Regions from separate parts of the Homo sapiens genome. Here region 1 is linked to region 2. Evidence: promoter capture Hi-C in human tissues and cell types (Jung and others, 2019). All regions are on one chromosome and are shown on one strand. Each heading gives the region's core, a stretch centred on a gene start or on the middle of the fragment in contact. The rest is flanking DNA. Distances are from core to core; before and after follow the strand shown.

Region 1 (3,593 bases), core at 650-3,149, 69 kb after region 2:
CCAGCCTGGGCGACAGAGTGAGACTCCGTCTCAAAAAAAATAAAAATAAAAAAAAATAATAAAAAGATGATAAAAAGCCCTCTATAGACAGTCCCATTGCATCCTGCTGGCAGCTTCCAGCGGCCAGAGCACAGCTAGACCTTGGAGTAAATACTGAGAGGCCTGTGCACCCTGGAGACTGCCAGGTGTTTCTTTACAGCCCTCAGGCAATGCTGAGTCCCTTGATGCCAGCATTAGGGGTACCATTACTTTTACTTCACAAGCTTGTTTTTCTGGTTTATTACTCGAACAGAATTAGAAGAGAGGTCATTAGAATTGACACAAGAATTGCATGAGGGAGGAGATGGCCAAGACTACAGGATCAGTAAGTATAAAATTATCCTTGTAAATCAGAGCCTAGTGTCTTTGTGGAACTCCTTAAGGGCATTGCCTGCCCTTTTTTGCTATTTCTTAGATTAGTCGTGTTGCAGTGATTGCTCATAATGACCCCTAATCTTCAAGGAAATGGAAAATTACATTTAGAATATGGTTTGATAAAGCAGAAATGGGCCATATTTTTAAATCAAAAATGATTATAATTACCAATTTCTATAAATGTTAATTTGAGGGATTTAGAAATATTCGTTAATGGTAGACGTTTCTAACCAAGGTTCCATGGATTTGTTTCATGGTGTCCACGAACTTTTAAAAATGAATGTATTCTTTTCCACGAGAAGGCAGAGCATGGGGGAAGGGAGACTCCATAGCTTTCACCAGATTCCCAAAAAATGAGCCCAAAAAAGGTTAAGAACTAATGAATCATATAAGAACACTTCAAGCCAGAGAAGTATATGATTTTAAACTTGGGGATGAGATAGTGGTACTAACATACAAAACAGATTAGCAAGTTGTGATTAAATTTAGATATGTGATGATACTGGAAGCCTCTTGGAACTGCCAAAAACCAAAATGTCAACAAATTAAGTCTAATGACCTAATTGGCTTTTATTAGCAATTTATGAATCAGGCAGCATCCTATCTATGAAATAGAAAGGCTGAGCACAGGAGTGGGCTTTATAGGCAGAAAAAAACAGAAGAAAATGGAAACAAGGAACAAAAGGTGTCTTTATATGGGTTAAAGCAGAGGGGACTTCCTTATGCCAGCTCAGGTTGACGGGGCCCCTTCTAATGGGATACTGTGAATGTTCTGGGTCTTTTTTTTTTCTTTTAAACTGACCTATTTTAAAGTTCAGTTTGATTACGTGGCACCTAGCATGAGTGACTCCATTCTAGTTTGGTCTGGTCTGTTGGGGTCCCCTGTAGGAGCTTAGTCCAAAAAAATGACCTCCCATAAGTTTTATTTAATAGAACATACACAGTTTAAGCTCTGTTTTTTCTAATACCAGCCATGGTTCCTTGCTATCTTCCTTACAGTGCCACAGCCTGAAGTAAATTTGGCCATAAAGTCAGAGGTATTTTCAGACTGACCTGTGCATTATCTCTTCCAGGGCACCCTAAACCAATTTACAAACCCCAAAGTTAAAAACAGTCCATTCTCCAGCCAGCTAGACGAATACCAGCTGCTCACATTGGCACGAAAATCTAAAGTGGGAATAGATTCAACTCCCTCCTGACCACTGAGCCAAACTCTGGGAGTTGGGAAACCATTTGTTGAATGTCTAGGGTGAATGAAAATCAGAAGTTTCAGGGAAGGGGGAAAGAGCCAATACCCTGCTGTGCTGTCACTAAGGAGGTAATAAATCACTCTTAAAGAAGGAAAGCAAAAGCTTGATCTGGAAGGAAAAAAAAAAAAGCCTGCTCTGGTCTGCATGAAAATGTACTTAATCTCTGGTACACAGTTTTAATGAATTGTCTTTTCCAAAATTTCATTAAGGCTATTATTTTCACATATTTCTGACTTCAAGCGATCTTTAAACAAATAATTTTGACTTATAAGTATATTGTGAGAATTTCATATAGTACAGAAAAGAAGGTAAAAACCCCTTTCTCCCCCAAAACTCCCAGTTTCCTTTACTAGAGGTTCACTTCAGATTTTTAGGTATCTTTCCTGAAAATACGTATGCCCTTTTAAAAAAAATACACAAATGAAGAGCCAGGCACATTGGTGTGTGCCTGTAGTCCCAGCCACTCAGTAGGCTAAGGCGGGAGGATTGCTTGAAGTTCAAGTCCAGCCTGGGCAACATAGAAAGACCCCAGAGGTTACAACTCTCTATATATATGCTTAGGCATCTTGCTTCTTTCACTGACTTTTGCAGATAATCCAACCTCATTCTTTTCGGTGGCCACAAAGTATTGTCATTTATGAATCATCACAGGGGGTATTTAGATTAGTTCCCCCTTGGGGTTGTTACCATCAGTGCTCCAGTGCCCTTCCCTGTACATATATCATGCCACATTGTGTGGCTTATATGTAAAAGAAATTCCTAGAAGTGGAATTGCTGCTCTGAAGGTACATGATTTGGAATTTGTGGAACTTGGTAGATATTACCAAATAGTCTTCCAAAAAGGTTGCATTTCTGCCAACAGCATATGAGAGTACCAGTTTCCCTCCATCCTCACTGACACAGGGTTTCTTCAAACTTTAATCTTTTTTCAGACTAATAGATAAAAGGAAATTCATTGTTTTGTTTTGATTTCTTTTATTATGAGTTAAGAAGAACATAGATTTATTTTAAAATAAATACTTGTTGGTTGCTTTTGATTTTAAGAATCAGAAGTCCTTTCTTTTTTCTTTTTCCTTTAAGTACTTTGTGTTACCCATTTCTTATGGTTTCTGTGTTTTCTCTAGAAAGTCATCTTCCTAAATTGTGTAGTAAGTAAAATACATTTTGGGGGAAGATCAAGTTTTCTTTGCATTTTTTTCTTTTGAATCCTTGGTAGCCTAGCGTTGAACTAGTATTTCAGTCGATTCCTCCACCTCTGTGCTTTAGCAAGGTCTTCTGCAATCGTTTTAATCATTTGATCTGTAGTTTCTTTCAAAATGGTTGCTGTCCTTAGGGCATGATCCAAAGCCGAGTTTAAAATCTACAGAGGAAAAGTCCACACATTTTAATTACATAAACTAACTGCTGTTTCTGTTCTTTGGGTTCTCTCATTATTAAACATTACAAGGTGGAATTTGGGGAGTATTCCTGTTTTCCTCTTGGTCTATTTCTGTTTTTGAGGGTTGGTTTCCTAGGAGACCAGTCTGAGATGGAATATATTTGTTAGGGAAAGGGATTGAAAAAAAGACCAGCACGTGACTGATGAGCATGAATCAGAGGGTGAGGTCAGCCGCCAGCTGGGCTGTTTCCCTGCCGCAGAGAAAGAGAAAAAAAGAACAGCTCTTAGAGGCCATTGATGGGGATTGGGGGGCCATAACCACTGAGAGGGTATTCAGGGATACAGCGCATGCGTATGGAAACATTTGAAAGTGGCCTGGGGATTCGAGTTAGTGATTTGAAATAGGAAACTGTTGGCAACTCTGATCACAGTGTCACTGGAACAGACCCAGTGCCTTCAACCCCCGGCCAGGGAAATCCTGTAGCTGAGGCACCACCCACAAATCACTTTCTCCAGGAAATTTCCCTTGGAACCAATTTAGAATAATACAA
Region 2 (3,346 bases), core at 578-3,077:
TCAGAGCAAGGGGCTTCACCTCAGAAGGGTGAATTTTCCCTGGCACATATTTTTCTTATGGATTGGGGCTTCACCCTGCTAAACTAAGCAGAACCTAACTTAAAATGAAAAGGGAGAGGGAAATCATATGTGCACTTGTTTAAAACATTGAGCAACTGAATCAATTTAGAGTAGGTTTAAAGGAGGTCAGGGCTCCAGCTTCTATTCTCATATAAGCCTTGAACAGAAAAACCACTCAGCCATAGGTTGTGCCAGAACCCATTTTATGGCCTTTTTTATTGTTAGATACAGGGTCTCATTCTGTTCCCCAAACTGGAGTACAGTTGCATGATCATAGCTCACTGCAGCCTGGAACTCCCAGGCTCAAGCAGTCGTCCTACGTCAGCCTCGCAAGTAGCTACGACTCCTCAGCTTGCAGGTAGCATGCGCCATCATGCCCAGCTAACTTTTTTATTAATTTTTTTTTTTTTTTTGGTGGAGACAGCAGTCTTGCTATGTTGCCCAGGCTGGTCTTAAACTCCTGGCCTCTATCAGTCCTCCTGCCTAGGCCTCCCAAAGTGCTGGGATTACAGGTGTGAGCCACCATGCCCAGCCTGTTCTTAATTCTTCATTTGCCTTTCCTCTCCTAAAAATTGCAGGTTACCCCACAGACTACTCTATTGCTTTCCATGTAGCCCAAGCCTGATCTTTGTTCCCACTCCACCACTAAGTGCATCCTTGGCAAGTTACTTGACTTCATTAAGCCTCAGTTTCCTTGTTGTAAGTGTTGCTTTGAGGATCAGTGAGGTAATCTACTTAGCATGGTGCCTGGCATATGGTAAGTAAGCACTCAGTAAATATTAGACATTATTATTAGTAGTAGTATCTAACCACTTCTACTTCCCTGTGTGACCAATTTGAATCTTTACAGCCACTGGTTCTTTGCAAATCCTTCTAGGAAAGCCTACTTTCTGCCAATGTCACATGGTTATCTCACAGTTAGGGCTCTTAGCAACTAAACTGATCTCACTTACGTTTGATTACTTTGATTTAAAGTCCCAAAGGAACCATCTCAGTAAACAGATCTCTACCTAAACTTTCTGAGCTCAGATCTCCTCCTCTGTGAATCAACTTTCAACAATAATTGTAGATTCTGAAGCATTAACAGGCCCTCCCTACATTTGTTGCATAAATTTGTTAATAAATGATTATTCTTTTGTTGGTTCATTTATGTATATCTTATCATTAAGGCATTCAATTTTTAAACTAAGTTTTAACTACCTGCAGCATTCCAGGAATTGTGCTCTTTAATTAGATTGTAAATTATTCAGGGGAAAGAGTTGATCTCTCATTTCTTTGAGTTTCCTAAAAGTCCAGCACAGTTCTTGGCACACTGGAGGGAACCTCACAGTTCTACGCAATTACTGTGTCCTTGAAAAAATGAATGAAATAATCATTTGGGGACAGTACATTTTCCATTGGGTAGTTGGGCTGGCTACTGAGTGAAGTCTATTATGAATCGCCTTGCGAAGTGAAGGGTTCTTCTGTAATGGGGAGGATCCTCCAGTCTTCGTGTATGTGTGAACTCGGAATTTCATAGACGGCCTTGGCTCACGATCGGTTTGGCACTTCGCGTTCCTAGGCCACAGGACGTCGAACCTCGGGCGACAGCAGCCTCCCGCTAGGGGGCTCCCGACTTCCCACGGAGGTTCCACCTGTACTGCGCAGCCTCCGTCCGGGAGTGGGCGGAAATTCCCTTGCTGACGCGCGTGACGTCACCGGAGGGCGCGGTCTGCTAGAGGGGGTGGGGCATTCCCCTGCAGCAAGGGGCGGGGCCACCCCAACGCCGCTTCTGCGGCCAAAGTAGGTTGGGAGTGGAAGGTGGTGGCTGCTGCTCCGCAGTGTCGGGAAGATGGCGCCGCCGGTGGCAGAGAGGGGGCTAAAGAGCGTCGTGTGGCAGAGTGAGTGCGGTGGGGTAGGGGTTGAGAGAGGGAAGGCCGGGAGGCTGCCGTGCCGGGCCTCGTTTTGCAGCCCCAACCCAGCGGTCTGTTGAGGAGCCGCCGCGAGCACTTGTTGCTTTGGGACCTGTGTGAGGACTTCTTCCTGCTTTCCTGCCCTGCCTTATTCCTTGCCAGCACCAGGGATGGGCGGGGTGCGACGGGACGCGGCCTTCTCGTTGGCGTCGGGCACCCCCTCGCCTCGGCCGCGCTCTGGCCGCGAAGCTCCGCCCCGGGTGAGCCGCCCGGCCCGGCTTTCCCTCCCGCGGAGCCCGTGCGTGCCCTCGGCCGCGCTCCCCACTCTTCTCCGCTCCCGTCCGCGCTCCACCAGTTGGGGATGTCTCTCCATCCGAGACAATTCGGGCGCTGTTTATTCCGCCCCCATCTCCACCCCACACTGGAGTTTGCAAGGACTGTTTATTCTGCTTATTCGTGTTAGTATCAACCCGTGCTTTTCAAAAAACCTCACTGTTTAACAGACTCATCTTCCCCTATTCCGAGAGGAGCCTACTTTCTGAAAAGTTCTTGAGAAGAGACCATTGGAATGACCGGTGTCCAGCCGTGACATCTTCCTGCATAGCCTGGGCAAGAGCCGCTCCTTCCGTTTTCCCTACTCTCGGGGGCCCCTCCCTGCTGTTAGGACCGGACTCCTTATTGGTTACTGATGTTCTGCGGTATCATCCACAACTTTCATAAACATCGCTCCAAACCTAGGTCTGGCAGGTTAGAGAAAGAATGAAACCACCCAACAGGAATAACCATCATTGTTTGGTATCTCTGAGTTCAAGATAATTATGGCCTAGTAGTGGAAAGGGAGTAGCATCTAATTAGTATTTCTTAGTCCAACTTGTTGAACAAAAAACAAATGATTTAGTCAGCAGAATTCTGGGAGTTAGAGTTCCTTGTCTAAAATTAAAAATCCAAATCAGTAACTGGGATAGTGCTTAACATATAGCAGGCACTAAGCAAATGTATAAATAGGTGAAAAATATGAAATTATCTTTTAAAAGATTAGATAATTTTAAGGTTGGCATTTGCTTTTTCAAGATTTACATGGCTGACTTAAGATTTGAGATGTTTTAAAACAATGGTATTTAAATACATTTATGTGAAAATGGGTAACAAATTGTGTTGTATAATTTCCAAGATATATATGTGATTAACATCCGCATGTATGTATTTAAGCCAGTTCTTTACATATTGAATCATAAGCTTTTCCCTTTTTCACATTTTCCTTCTGATCCTCATACAGATAAAGACATTGTTTTTATTATCTGTCATTCTGTGACTTCCTTTTTTTTAAACAACTGACATTGACTCAACATTTTTCATGTTGCTTCACAATCTCGTAATTAACATTTTAAATTGCT

The links. Contacts are between HindIII fragments. The study calls those that stand out against the background at their distance.
Region 1: a contact is called between a fragment that was not itself captured here and the fragment with the promoter of STXBP3 in region 2, in 2 of the 25 tissues and cell types used here (aorta and hippocampus).

Annotation. Positions count from the first base shown.
Region 1 is chr1:108,813,279-108,816,871 of GRCh38, forward strand. AKNAD1 (AKNA domain containing 1) reads right to left here. Exons shown (of 16, transcript NM_152763.5): 16 at 2,623-3,024. The coding sequence ends at 2,893. LOC105378891 (a long non-coding RNA gene) reads left to right here and starts at 312. Exons shown (of 5, transcript XR_947687.3): 1 at 312-364. The HindIII fragment of the contact is 4,821 bases long and covers 1-3,593 here.
Region 2 is chr1:108,744,847-108,748,192 of GRCh38, forward strand. STXBP3 (syntaxin binding protein 3) reads left to right here and starts at 1,828. Exons shown (of 19, transcript NM_007269.4): 1 at 1,828-1,940. The coding sequence starts at 1,892. RefSeq lists enhancers at 1,507-2,077, 1,600-2,009 and a silencer at 2,210-2,329. The HindIII fragment of the contact is 8,912 bases long and covers 1-3,346 here.